Linked DNA regions of Homo sapiens: all the other regions are linked to region 1. Evidence: promoter capture Hi-C in human tissues and cell types (Jung and others, 2019). All regions are on one chromosome and are shown on one strand. The core of a region is centred on a gene start or on the middle of the fragment in contact, and the rest is flanking DNA. Distances in the headings are between cores, read along the strand shown. Region 1 holds the start of NRN1L (neuritin 1 like). Region 2 overlaps ATP6V0D1 (ATPase H+ transporting V0 subunit d1). Region 3 overlaps CTCF (CCCTC-binding factor). Region 4 overlaps NFATC3 (nuclear factor of activated T cells 3). Region 5 overlaps CTCF (CCCTC-binding factor).

Region 1 (2,700 bases), core at 125-2,624:
TAGGCCAGAGGCCTCAGGAGGTAGGCCAGAGCCAGAGCAGCCGCCAGCAGTGGGGGCGCAGGGGCCATGGGGAGTGCAGGCGCTGTAGCCCGCAGCGTCTCCTGGTTGGTTTCGGAGCCTGTGCCGCGCTCCCGAACATGCACCGGGGCACCGCACAGAGTGTGCAAGTTATTCGGACGGGGGGCCTGGCGAGCTTCTTGCTGTAGTGATTCCCACACTGCAGCTGCCTCCTCCGGACAGCCTGACAGGACCTGAGAGGCACAGGCATGGAAGTCATTCCAAGACCTGTTAAGGGAGTGGGATTAGGGGGATTAGGTGAGGCAAGGAGACTTTAGCTTGGGAAATAAAAGGTTCAGTCCCCAATGGTGGCACAGGTTGGGCCACTGCCTCACACCCGCCGGTACCTGCAGATGGTCTCCAGCTCGCCTCCGCGGCCCATGCTGTCCCCCAAGCGGATGAGACACTCGGCGAAGCCCTGGTATATGGTGTCACATCGGTTTGGGCCCGCTGCAGCTGCTGCCAGGGGAGGTAAAAGGACTAGAAGTGGGGCGGGGGTGGGGTGGGGAAGGAATGGTAGATAGGATGAGCCAGGCTCATCCCCCAGCCCCCAGGGGCTTGTTTACCTGGGAGCACTCTGGGGATGTGACTCAGCGGAAAAAGGGTGCCCCAGGGAACTAAAGGGCAAGTCTGGGGATTACCTACCCAGGCCCCCTTCAAGGTAGGACCCAGACTGGGATTTGTACAGGGGAAGGGGGTGTTGTGTACCCCAGGTCAGCTCTTCCTTTGAGCTTCTGGGGCCGCAGGTGGGGTGACAAGGGTCCATGTAAAGGAGTCAGGACAGGGTGGAGGGGAGGGAGGTCCAGAGGCCCCGGACCAGGAGCAGGTGCATCTCTCTGCGGTTTAGACAAGCTTTGCTTGGCCCTCCGAACTCTCTCTAAAGATAAATATTTTTGGAGAGACAAGGCAGGATGCAGAGGTATTGGGATCCAGGCCAGACCCTCAGAGAGGACTTAGGGATCCTACGACTGGTCTATAAGTCCTGCCATTGGCATGTCTCCCTTTATCATAAGAGGGGATGCAAATTTTGGAGTCCTTCTCCCATAACTGGGGCTGTTTGTGCCTCTCACTTTCTGTCCTGAAGTCACCAGCACACCTTCCTGGAGCCCTTACAACTCTTCTCCACCCTGGCACCCAGCGTTCCCACACACCCTATGCCCAGCCTGGCTTGGCTGGGCGAGAAGGGGGTGTGGCCCGGGCCCCGGATGCCCGCACTCACCGAGGGGCAGCAACAGCAACGGCCTCAGGGCATGGGGTGGTTGCCGGCAGCAGCAGCGGCGGCGGCAGCAGCGCATCATCCCTGGCTGAGAGCCTAGTGCAGGAGCTAGCTGCTTGGAGTGCAGCCCGTCCGCCCAGCCCCCGGAGGGAGGGACGGTGATTGGATGGGAGCTGGGGGTGGGGCTCCGAACCCAGCCGGCGGCTCCGCCTCCAACACCCAGATGGGAAAAGGAGCGAGGAGACCTCAGAGAGCAGAAATTCGCAGGAGCACAGGCTGGTGCTGGGCAGGCCCCTGGACCCTCACTCCATAGAAGGAGGGAGAAGGGAGATCTGGGAAGGCAGTTGGAGCAGATGAGTGGGTAACCCGGCCCCTTGGCTGGGTTGGCCTCGACAGAGCTCCACGGGCAAGAGATGGGCAGAGAACGAACAGACGGCAGTTATGAGAGTCACACCAAAGACAAACCAAAAGCACACACATACTCCATTTTATTCCAAAAGCATTTAATTGAATTTCTCAATGTTTTTCAAAAACAAAAAGATCCAAATTAGAGGTAAAAAGGAACATGGAAAATTCCACTCAAGTGGTGTCACGATCTCAGGGTCATGCTCCAGGCATGGCAGAACCCAAGCAGGCGCAATACCTGCCCTGGGCCCAGCTAAACCTTCTGACTACCACACGCTGTAGACCACGGCCAGTGCTCCCTGCTCCCTGACCCCCAAACACCCCAGAGATGGGGGCCTGAGCAGGTAAAGGCCAGCCGTGACCCTGCCCCAGCCTAGGCCTGTCTGCTGGCCTTCAGTGCCATCCCACCCCTGGGCAAGGCAGGCTTAGCAGCTAAGGGAGGCTGGGGGTCACGAGGCCATGCAGCATGAGGCTGAGACGCCGAGCTGCTTTGCCAAGTGAGTTGTGTGGCTCAGCCTGCAGGAACTGAAAAAGCTTTTGGCGCACCTGGGCCATAACGGAGCCCATGTGGTCCCGAGTGATGGGGTCACTGTGGTCCAGGTGCATCACGGCCTCTTCCAGGTAGCTGGGGATGGGGGGGAAAGGACAGGCTACAGGTGGGTGCCAGCAGACGGGAGCGCCCCCTGGTGGCACCGAGGCCCAGAGGGAACCCTCTGGGTGAAGGCAGAAAGGACTGGTGGAGAAAATTAGGGAGAGGATTCAGGCAGAAGTGGGCGTCAGCTTCAAACTGCTCCCTCCCACTGCCCCACTCCCCAGCTCATCTCCCCATCCCTGGCTGTCCCCACTTACCTGAGCTTGAGGTCAGTTCGAGTGCCAAGGTCAGATGCCAGCTGCTGGATGAGGGAAAGGAGCACAGGCTGGGAGAGCGGGCAGGGTGGCTGCCCAAAAACCTGGGCTGGGTCCACAGTTTCACACACATACAGCACCAGGTTCAGGTCAGCAGCTGTCAGCGCCTGGAGGAG
Region 2 (2,700 bases), core at 165-2,664, 440 kb after region 1:
AGGTTCAAGTGAGTCTCCTGCCTCAGCCTCCAGAGCAGCTGGGATTACAGGTGTGCGCCACCACACCCGACTAATTTTTGTATTTTTAATAGAGACAGGATTTCACCATGTTGGCCAGGGTGGTCTCAAACTCCTGGCCTCAAGTGATCCGCCCTCCTCGGCCTCCCAAAGTGCTGGGATAACAGGCATGAGCCACAGCACCCACCCTCATCTTCTATTTATTTTATTTTTTGAGATAGGATCTTGCTCTGTTGCCCAGGCTGGAGTGCAGTGGCATGATCATAGCTCACCTGCAGCCTTGATCTCCTGGGCTCAAGTGATCCTCCTGCCTCAGCCTCCCAAGTGTCTGGTATTACAAGTGCATGCCACCACACCTGGCTAATTTTTTTGATTTTTTAATAGAAATGAGGTCTTGCTATGTTGCCCAGGCTGGCCTCAAACTCCTGAGCTAAGAGAGCCTCCCACCTCTGCCTCCCAAAGTGCTGGGATTACTGGTGTGAGCCACCATGCCTGGCCCTCACTCATCTTGATATGGAGGAGAAACTAAGTCTCGAGAGGTGGTGTGCTGAGGCCATGGACAGAGCTCAGAAACAGTGATATTTCTGTTCACTTTCCACTCTGCACAGGGCTCTTCAGGACCCAGAAGTGATTGAATACAGATACTGTCATTAGCAGCTCACTGGAGCACCTGCTGGGGACTGCAGTGGACAGGCTGGCAGGGTTACCCAGGCATCATGGCTGCCTCACCAGCACCAGACCAGCCACCCGGGGTTGAGAAGCCATATTGTTCCAGCAGGTGGCACCAAAGGGCGCAGCAGAGGGGCAGAGTTGGCTAGGGACTCTGAAGGCTTCTTGGAGGAAGTGGCTTCCTAAACTCCAACCCAAGATGTCTGTGGGCCCAAGCTGAGTTTTGAAGGCACAGGGCAAGGGAGGGCCTCTGGGCAGAGGAATACAGACGGCCCCACCCCCACCCCACAAGGGCCTCTTTGGCCTGGCGGGCAGCCGGCCCTCCACTCCCCAGCTGTCTTCCCCTGGAGGGAGATGCTGACCAGCTGGAACCTTATTCCCTCCTATTGAGGCCAAATGAGGGGAGGAATGGTGGAGTGGCTTTCTGGGGGCAGGGAGGCAGCTGCTGAAGCCAGGCAAGGAGGAAGAGGAGGATTTCCCTGCCTGCCGAAGGCCTCGGCCTTGGGAGAAAGGCAGACTGCTGGGCCAGCCTTATCTCTGCCAGGCCTGTCCAGCCTCTCATCTCCTGAAAAAGAGGATTCTGCCCCTCACTGGGCAGGAGAGAAAAGCAGGGCTGCAGCAGCAACAAGCTTATAGCCAGCCCGGCAAGGGAAGTGCTGGGCCTGGCACAGGATCGCCCACGATTGGCCTGGCTTGGGTTTGAAGAGGGCCTTGAAGGGGCTGGGGTAGTGCGATTGTGAGTGGCCCTTACTAGGCTCAGCATTTCCCCCACATAAACAGATGCCCTGAGTGGGGGGCGCAAGGAGGGGGACGTTGAAAAAGAGGAGATTGGCTGGTGGGGATCCCTCTGAGAAAATGAGACTAGGTGGGGTATGTAGAGCCAGGCAGGGGGCCCTGGTCATGGGTGGAGGTGTGTGGACATTGGCCATGGGGACGTGGAGCTCCTCTGCTTTGTGGTGTGTTAGGGCCTGGTGCTGGCCCTCTCTGGGCCTTATCTGCTCTGACAGTGGGGCTGGTAATGCTAGTGGTTGTGGGATCACTTGGATAAGGTGGGCCTTGGGTGTGCTTTTTCTCCCTCTTCCCGTCCGAAAGGGAGGGAGAGCATAAGAAAGCATCCTTCTGCTTGGGGGCAGGGGATTTGTGACTGTCTCAGGGAGCACCAAGGCTACATTGGGGCTGGATGGGGTGCAGTTAGAGTATTGCGGGGTGGCGCATATGCAGCATGGGTTCTGGGGTATGTGAGATGTTGGAGGCCTCATAGGCAGGAGGCGTGTGTGCTGTCCGGGGTAGAAAATATGCAGGCTGGAGCTGCAGACCATGGCCCAAAGCTCTGGCGAGCTCTGAGGTCCCTCACTCTGCCAGCACTGTGGGGTTGGGGGCAGGAGGCTGCCCATTTGGGCCTCTTGGCTTGCAGCTGCAAGTGGGCCCTGCTTAAGGCTCTCAGTTATGGTTGGGAGTTAGGGGACTGTCTCTTCTCAGTGCACATCCTGTAGCTGACCCAGCCAGATTGGGGGTGGAGAGAGGGCAGTTGCCTGGCTCCAGGCCCAGGAGAGCAAAGGTCTTCGCAGGGCGCCAGGCTGGGTGGGAGCTGGGGGAGTGCAGAGCAAGCAGGGGGAGTGGGGGTCAGGCCAGGACAGGAGCTGGGGCCTTTTCCTCCTGCCGCCTTTCTAGAGGGCCCTGTGGGAGCTCCCCCAGTGGCCAGTGCTTTGAGCCGTGGCCTGGGCCCTGGGCTGCCACCTCCCCTCCTTTCTTTCTTCAGTATGGGGGAAGACACCTCCTACCAAGGTCTTCTCTGGACAGCCTGAGCACTAGTTGCACAAGGTCCTGTCACAGGGCAGGGGCCTAGCTCTGGCCCACTCAGAAGCTAGGACAAGACCCGTGTTCAGTGCCCAGCTCAGAACAGCAGCCTCCACCCCAACTTTTATCCCATAGGTGCCTCACCTTGACCTTGGAGGAATTTCCCCTAGGCCTCATTTAGCTCCCTCATACCCTGAGTTCATCTTTGGTGACAGA
Region 3 (2,700 bases), core at 61-2,560, 290 kb after region 1:
GAATGAAATAATGTCCTTTACAGCAACACAGATGCAGCTGGAGGTCATTATCCTAAGCGAATTAAGGCAGGAACAGAAAACCAAGTATCTCATGTTCTCACTTACAAGTGGAAGCTACACACTGGGTACACATGGACATAAACATAACAATAGGCCTTAGGGATTAGGAGGGGGAGGGAGAAAACGGGGTAAGGGCTGCAAAACTAATCATTGGGTACTATGCTCATTACCTGGGTGATGAGCAACAATTGTACCCCCAAACCTCATAATCACACAATATACCCATGTACACAAAAAAACTTGGACATGTACCCCCGAATCTAAAATAAAAGTTGAAATTGTAAAAAATTTTAAGAGAACAGAAGATACCTTGCACCTTTCTCTTTATATGTATAAAATATATATTAAAAACCATATATTAAAATATAAAAAAGATATACAAATATATAAATATAAAATATATATTAAACATTTATACATATATATATAAATTTTTTTTTTCCAGATGGAGTTTCACTCTGTCACCCAGGCTGGAATGCAGTGGCGCGATCTCGGCTCACTGCAACCCCTGCCTCCAGGTTCAACCGATTCTCCTGCCTCAGCCTCCTAAGTAGCTGGGACTACAGGCACATGCCACTGTGCCCCGCTAATTTTTGTATTTTTAGTAGAGACGGGGTTTCACCATGTTGGCCAGGCTGGTCTCAAACTCCTGAGCTCAAGTGATCCACCCACCTCGGCCTCCCAAAGTGCTGAGATTACTGACGTTGAGCCAGTCACCAACGCCTGGCCTCTGTAAGTATCTTTTTTTGATGTTGTTGTTTTTGAGACGGAGTCTCACTCTGTCACCCAGGCTGCAGTGCAGTGGCACGATCTTGGCTCACTGCGACTTCCGCCTCCTGGGCTCAAATAATTCTAATGTCTCAGCCTCCCGAGTGGCTGGGACTACAGGCGCATGCCACCATGCCGGCTAATTTTTATATTTTTAGTAGAGACAGGGTTTCACCATACTGGTCAGGATGGTCTCAAACTTCTGAGCTCTGGTGATCCTCCCACCTCAGCCTCCTAAATTACTGGGATTACAGGCATGAGCCACTGTGCCTGGCCTTATTTATTTTTTTAGACAGATTCTTGCTCTGCCACCCAGGCTGGAGCGCAGTGGCACAATCCCGGCCACTGCAACCTCTGCCTCCAGGGTTCAAGCAATTCTCCTGCCTCAGCCTCCTGAGCAGCTGGGATCACAGGCGTACACCACTATGCCCAGCAAATTTTTGTATTTTTAGTAGAGACAGGGTTTCACTATGTTGGCCAGGCTGGTCTCAAACTCCTGACCTCAGGTGATGTGCCCGCCTCATCCTCCCAAAGTGCTGGGTTTACAGGTGTGAGCCACTGCGTCCAGTCGATAGATCTTTACATTAGAAAAATGTTGACTGAAAAGCTTAGTCTGGTATTCTCACTATACAGAATGTTAAATGACATTAGGACAAGGAGGGGAAAAAAAGCAATTATAAGTCATCAGGTCGGGCACAGTGGCTCACACATATAATCCCAGTACTTGGGGAGGCAGAGCCAAGAGAATCGTTTGAGCCCAGGAGTTCAAGACCAGCCTGAGCAACATAGTGAGACCTTGTCTCCATTAAAAATTAAAAAAAAAATTAGCTAGGTATGATGGCATCCATCTGTAGTCCCAGCTACTCGGGACTGAGGCGGGAGGATCGCCTGAGCCCAGGCTGCAGTAAGCTATCATCACACCACTGCATTCCAGTCTGAGTGACAGCGCAAGACTCTGTGCCCTTACTGCCCCCCCCCAAAAAAAGTAATCAGTTTTTCCTGAGGATGAAAGGAAAAGCTAAGTAACTTTTACTAGATGCAGGACACTAGCCAAAACGAATAAAAGTTATTAACTCTTTTAGAGTAAAAGCTAGGTTTAAAAGTTAAACAAAATAACCATTTTACTCTGCTATTCCTGAAAACATATACGCCATCATCTTATCTGAGAGCTTAAAATACATCAAAGCAAAGTATCAGTGAACTAGTACCAGGAAAGTTGTAGACTACAATAAAGAATGAGGAGGAGTTGAATTGGGAGAATAACTTGGGCTGAGAAGCAGAAAAATAATAGTGACCATTTCTTTCACAGTGACTGGGAACGGAAGCAGCCTTTATCTGAAAAAGCACTCATCTATTTAATCACAACTGTACCTCTCACTTCTCTGACATTAATTTTCATTTATTTTTTGAGACAGAGTCTCGCTCTGTCACCCAGGCTGGAGTGCAGTGGTGAGATCTTGGCTCACTGCAATCTCTGCCTCCTGTGTTCAAGCAATTCTCAGCCTCAGCCTCCTGAGTAGCTGGGATTACAGGCACGCATCACCACGACTAGCTAATTTTTGTATTTTTCGTAGAGATGGGGTTTCATCATGTTGGCTAGGCTAGTCTCAAACTCCTGACCTCAAGTGATCTGCCCGCCTCGGCCTCCCAAAGTGCTGGGATTACGGTGGCTCACGCCTGTAATCACAGCATTTGTGTGAGCCACCCAGTCCAGCATTTTTTTTTTTTTTTTTTTTTTTGAGACAGAGTCTCACTCTGTCATCCAGGCTGGAGTGCAATGGTGCCATCTCAGCTTACTGCAACCTCCACCTCCCGGGTTCAAGCGATTCTCCCGCCTCAGCCTCCCAAGTAGCTGGGATTGATTACAGGCAC
Region 4 (2,700 bases), core at 153-2,652, 260 kb before region 1:
CAAGTTAATAAAGTAGCATTACAAAATGGATGTGGGGCTTTTTTTGAGAGTGGGGCTGGGTCTGATAGAGCTGAGAGACACTGATCTAGAAGACTTGTAACCAAAGAGGCACAAAGACCTCAGGATATAACCACCAAAGGTTTATAATAATGTTTTGCAACGGGCAAGATTCTTTATTATAATTCATACTGCAGAAACAATTCCAGATTCAAGGAAGATGACAAATCGTAATTCCAACTACCCTTCTCAAAGGATATAAGTAGAGCATATAAAGCAGGGAAAAACAGCTAATAAATAAATGGAAAAATGCTCAATCTTATTAAATATCAAATAAATAAGAAAACTACTTCTAACCTATCAAAAAAGCAAAGAACAGAGAAGTGGTAATAGTCTACACAGACAACTTTTCCCCTTTGTGGCTGTTTATATGATTTGCTCATTTTCTGTTTCTATTTTAGTATTATTAATTTTACAAGCCCTTTAGATATACTAAGCATATTAACCCTTTGTCTGCCTTACAAGTTATAAATATGGTTTTGTTTTCCATTTATCACCAATTCTGGATCAATTTCTGCTCCTCAGAAGGGAACCATTTGTAACCCTTTTCACTGTTTCTTTTGGAACTTACTTCCATATTTCTAAGGAACATGTTAATACTGCTATTTCCTAATGTTTTTCAAGGTTAGATATATTATCTTTTGAACTTTCAGTGTTTGCATTATAACTGGATACATGTTACTTGCAGCTCAGCCTTGTAGTGTATTTTAATTATATTTCCTTTTTCATACAACTTATTTGGTTACAGTTAATAATTGCCTTTTATATTAGGATTAAGTTTGGCTGCATAAACAAAAATCCAAAGTAACAGTAATTTAAACATGTTAAAAGTAAAGTTTATTTCTTAGAATCTACAGGTCTCTTCTACTGGACCAGTGAGTTTGCCTAAAACACATCCTGCAGTCTTCTGCCTAGGGAGCATAGTAAACCTATTGCAAGCATTGTGGGAACTAATAAAATGGTCAGAGGTCTCACTCTTCAGTATGCAGACTTCCATTATGCCTTCCCTTCCGCCCCCACCCCATTTTAAGAACAGATCATTAAGCCTAGCCTTTAGCTCTCCTAGAATCTAGAACCTCCACTTCATTCTCTCTATAGAATCACCAGATTCTCTCAGGGTAAGACAGGCATTATCACTAGGCTGTACCACACAGGAAAGAAACATCTGGGAAATTTAAGTCCTTTTTAAATTCAATTTAATTTTTTTTTCTTTTAAGATGGAGTCTCGCTGTGTTGCCCAGGCTGGAGTGCAGTGGTGCTGCAACCTCCACCTCCCAGGTTCAAGCAATTCTTCTGCCTCAGCCTCCTGAGTAGCTGGAACTACAGGCATGAGCCACCATGCCCGGCTAATTTTTTTGTATTTTTAGTAGAGACAGGGTTTCACCATGTTGGCCAGGTGGTCCCAAACTCCTGTCCTCAAATGATCCACCCGCCTCAACCTCCTAAGGTGCTAGGATTACAGGTGTGAACCACCGTGCCCGGTCTTAACTCCTTCTTTTATAGACTTTTTATCCAATCTTCTTGTTTTCAGTCTCACCTCACATCCCACTTTCAGAGATATCCAGTACGTCAAATTCCTGAACCTTTCCAGAGTTCTCAGATGCAAAATGACTTGTGCTGCTTGCTTATTGGTTCTTTCTCACCTGCCAGCAGGCTTAAGCTACAGCTGTCTTATGTTTAGTGAAAGTAAACCTGTTCAATTTATTACATTTATGTTTCCATTTTCTGTAAATATTTTAATTTTTATGTAGTCAAGAAATCTATCAGTATTCTCATTTGTAATTTTTTTACACATTTTAGTGTAAAATTAATAAATTTCAAAGCTTTAATTATGGAAACTATTCCATAAAACTATAAAATGTCAATATCATCACAATAACAAAAATAAAGCCTAGGTCAGGCACGGTGGCTCACACCTGTAATCCCAGCACTTTGGGAGGCCTAGGCAGGTGGATCACCCGAGGTCGGGAGTTCGAGACCAGCCTGACCAACATGGAGAAACCCCATCTCTACTAAAAATACAAAATTAGCCGGGCATGGTGGCGAATGCCTCTAATCCCAGCTACTCAGGAAGACTGAGGCAGGAGAATCGCTTGAACCCAGGAGGCGGAGGTTGCAGTGAGCCGAGATCGCGCCATTGCACTCCAGCCTGGAGTGCAAAACAAGAGCAAAACTCCATCTCTAAATAAATAAATAAATAAATCCTAAATAAATCAATAGCTAAAAGGAAACTGGAAAAGTTTGGGCATATATTTTATGTGTATCTGTGCAAAAACAAATTTCAGCCATTACTCTTTTGGTTTATCTGGCGGCAGATGGGGTAAGTAATAATGCCACGTGAGATTCATCCAGATTTATACCCAGAGGTAAAAAAAAATGAAGGTAGAGAGTGGTTATAGTTCACTGCATCCAAAAACTCCTGTGGACTATATGTCTTTTTTTTTTTTTTTTTTTCAGTTCACAGATAATCTGAAGCTAACAATGATTAGGCAACTTCCTCACATTCATCTATTCAGTGATTAGTCATTCCTTTTTGGTATACCTGTTGCTCTTTCATGTTTAATCATAAATTTAACAAATTATTCTACATGACCAACTGTTCATCAAGTGGAGAAATAAACAGCAACAACTTTACCACTTGCC
Region 5 (2,700 bases), core at 109-2,608, 280 kb after region 1:
CAGGCCCAAGATGTCAAGAGCACTGAGGCTGAGAAACTCTGATACAGATAAAAGAGTCTTAAAGAGACAGTAATCAATCACAATGCATGAATCTTCTTTGGATCCTGATTCAAACCAATAAATGGTGAAAAAGATGTGACACAAGACAATTAGAAATTTCAACTCTGGATATCTGATGATATTAAAGAATTACTAACAAAACTAATTTAAATCTTACACATGTAGTGGGGAAGACACTGGTAAAGGACATATAATTTCAGTGGGAATAAGTTCAAGAGATCTATTATACAACATGAATATTACAGTTAATAATAACGTATACCTGAAAATAACTGAGAGCAGATTTTTAAGTGTTCTCATCACAAAAAATGACAAGGATGTGAGATGATGCATATATGAATTAGCTTAATTTTCTGCAATTATGGGGTCTTGCCACATTTCCAGACTGGCCTTGAACTCCTGGGCTGAAGCAATCCTCCCACCTAAGCCTCCCAAAGTGCTGGGATTATACATGTGACTGAGCCACTGTGCCCGGGTCTGCCAATGTTTTGTAAAAAGCTTTATTAAGGTAGCTTTATTAAGCACGTGGTGGCTCACGCCTATAATCCCAGCACTTTGGGAGGCTGAGGTGTGTGGATCACCTGAGGTCGGGAGTACGAGACCACCCTGAACAACATGGAGAAACCCCGTCCTAAGTAAAAATACAAAATTAGCCAGGTGTGATGGTGCATGCCTGTATGTAATCCTGGCTACTTGGGAGGCTGAGGCAGGAGAATCGTTTGACCCGGGAGGTGGAGGTTGCGGTGAGCCAAGATTGCGCCATTGTACTGTGCAGCCTGGGCAACAAGAACGAAACTCCGTCTCAAAAAAGAAAAAAAAAAACACTAAATACACCTCCAAAATTTCCTTGTATTTTGTTTTTGGTGATAATATTTATCATGAGATCCATCCTCAACATAATTCAAAGTGCATAATGCTATACGATTAATACAGGAACTATGTTGTGTAGCAGATCTCTAGAACTTACTCATCTTGCATAACTGAAACTTTATACCCACTCAACAGCAATTCCCCATTTTCCCCACCCTGTCAAGGGTTTTTGACCTTGTTTTTTGAAGCCAAACTCAGAACTTAGATCCAGACTGCAATGGCCGTGTTTGTAGACACTGCACAAAACTGCCCATGTCATACCATCAACTTGACATTCACCTCTCTCCTGACAATGAGATCAGGAATTCCCTGAGAATAAGAACCACATCTAACAAGTCGTTTTTTTTTTTTTAATTTTTTTTTTGAGACGGAGTCTCGCTCTGTTGCCCAGGCTAGGGTGCAGTGGCACGATCTCCGCTCACTGCAAGCTCCGCCTCCCAGGTTCACGCCATTCTCCTGCCTCAGCCTCCCGAGTAGCTGGGACTACAGGCGCCCACCACCATGCCCGGCTAATTTTTTGTATTTTTAGTAGAGACGGGGTTTCACCATGTTAGCCAGGATGGTCTCGATTTCCTGACCTCGTGATCCGCCTGCCTCGGCCTCCCAAAGTGCTGGGATTACAGGTGTGAGCCACTGCGCCCAACCGGTTTTTACTTTTTTTTTTTTTTTGAGTCGGAGTCTCGCACTGTCGCCCAGGCTGGAGTGCAATGGCGTGATCTTGGCTCACTGCAACCTCTGCCTCCCAGGTTTAAGTGATTCTCCTGCTTCAGCCTCCGGAGTAGTTGGGATTACAGGTGCCCACCACCACACCTGGCTAATTTTCTGTATTTTTAGCAGATACGGGGTTTCACTATGTTGGCCAGGCTGGTCTTGAACTTCTGACCTCGTGATCTGTCCGCCTCGGCCTCCCAAAGTGCTGGGACTACAGGCGTGAGCCACCACGCCCAGCCACGGTTTTTACTCTTTAGCACTGTGCCCAGGATGGTAAGTACTCAATAAATGCCAACCAAATTGAATATATAATAGAAAGCAGAAAACAAATCAGCCAATTCATAGTTTTTGGCTCTTATATCTTGTGAATGGGCCGGGCACGGTAGCTCACGCCTGTAATCCCAGCACTTTGGGAGGCCAAGGCTGGTGGATCAGTTGAGGCCAGGAGTTCAAGACCAGCCTGGCTAACATGGCAAAACCCCATCTCTACTAAAAATACAAAAATTAGCCAGGCGTAGTGGTGTGCACCTGTAATCCCAGCTACTTGGGAGGCTGAGGCACGAAAAGAACTTGAACCCTGGAGGTGGAGGTTGCAGCGAGCTGAGAAAGTGCCCCTGCATTCCAGCCTGGGCGACAGAGTGAGACTCGGTCTCAAAAACAAAAAATAAAAAACAAACAAAAATCTTGTGAATGACATTACCTAAACAAGAGTAAAATAGGGGCCAGGCGTGGTGGCTCAGGCCTGTAATCCCAGCATTTTGGGAGGCCGAGGCGGGCAGATCACTTGAAGTCAGGAGATGGAGACAAGCCTGGCCAACACGGCAAAACCCCGTTTCTATTAAAAATACAAAAATTAGCCAGGTGTGGTGGCACATGCCTGTAATCCCAGCTACTCAGGAGGCCGAGGCAGAAGAATTGCTTGAACCTGGGAGGTGGAGGTTGCAGTGAGCTGAGATTGGGCCACTGTACTCCCTCCAGCCAGGGCAACAGAGCGAGCCTCTGTCTCAAAAAAATAATAATAATTAAAATAAAATAAAACATATATAGCTGAGTGTGGTG

What was found. Contacts are between HindIII fragments. The study calls those that stand out against the background at their distance.
Region 2: a fragment that was not itself captured here is called in contact with the fragment with the promoter of NRN1L in region 1 in 2 of the 25 tissues and cell types used here (dorsolateral prefrontal cortex and spleen).
Region 3: a fragment that was not itself captured here is called in contact with the fragment with the promoter of NRN1L in region 1 in 3 of the 25 tissues and cell types used here (dorsolateral prefrontal cortex, lymphoblastoid cells and spleen).
Region 4: a contact is called between a fragment that was not itself captured here and the fragment with the promoter of NRN1L in region 1, in 2 of the 25 tissues and cell types used here (dorsolateral prefrontal cortex and spleen).
Region 5: a contact is called between a fragment that was not itself captured here and the fragment with the promoter of NRN1L in region 1, in 2 of the 25 tissues and cell types used here (dorsolateral prefrontal cortex and spleen).

What each region holds. Positions count from the first base shown.
Region 1 is chr16:67,883,559-67,886,258 of GRCh38, reverse strand. It overlaps NRN1L (neuritin 1 like), which reads right to left and starts at 1,374. Exons shown (of 3, transcript NM_198443.2): 1 at 1,277-1,374; 2 at 405-537; 3 at 1-285. The coding sequence starts at 1,355. It overlaps EDC4 (enhancer of mRNA decapping 4), which reads right to left. Exons shown (of 29, transcript NM_014329.5): 28 at 2,528-2,691; 29 at 1,760-2,303. The coding sequence ends at 2,111. RefSeq lists enhancers at 780-1,287, 1,288-1,797, 2,103-2,282. The HindIII fragment of the contact is 2,833 bases long and covers 319-2,700 here.
Region 2 is chr16:67,445,885-67,448,584 of GRCh38, reverse strand. The region is part of intron 2 of ATP6V0D1 (ATPase H+ transporting V0 subunit d1); the gene reads left to right. Among named protein-coding and RNA genes, the nearest start is that of HSD11B2, 16 kb to the right of the region's middle. RefSeq lists an enhancer at 830-1,329. The HindIII fragment of the contact is 4,026 bases long and covers 1-2,700 here.
Region 3 is chr16:67,590,828-67,593,527 of GRCh38, reverse strand. All of the region lies in intron 2 of CTCF (CCCTC-binding factor), which reads right to left. Among named protein-coding and RNA genes, the nearest start is that of CTCF, 30 kb to the right of the region's middle. The HindIII fragment of the contact is 6,285 bases long and covers 1-2,700 here.
Region 4 is chr16:68,147,567-68,150,266 of GRCh38, reverse strand. The region is part of intron 3 of NFATC3 (nuclear factor of activated T cells 3); the gene reads right to left. Among named protein-coding and RNA genes, the nearest start is that of NFATC3, 64 kb to the right of the region's middle. The HindIII fragment of the contact is 8,254 bases long and covers 1-2,700 here.
Region 5 is chr16:67,606,918-67,609,617 of GRCh38, reverse strand. All of the region lies in intron 2 of CTCF (CCCTC-binding factor), which reads right to left. Among named protein-coding and RNA genes, the nearest start is that of CARMIL2, 37 kb to the left of the region's middle. The HindIII fragment of the contact is 5,706 bases long and covers 1-2,700 here.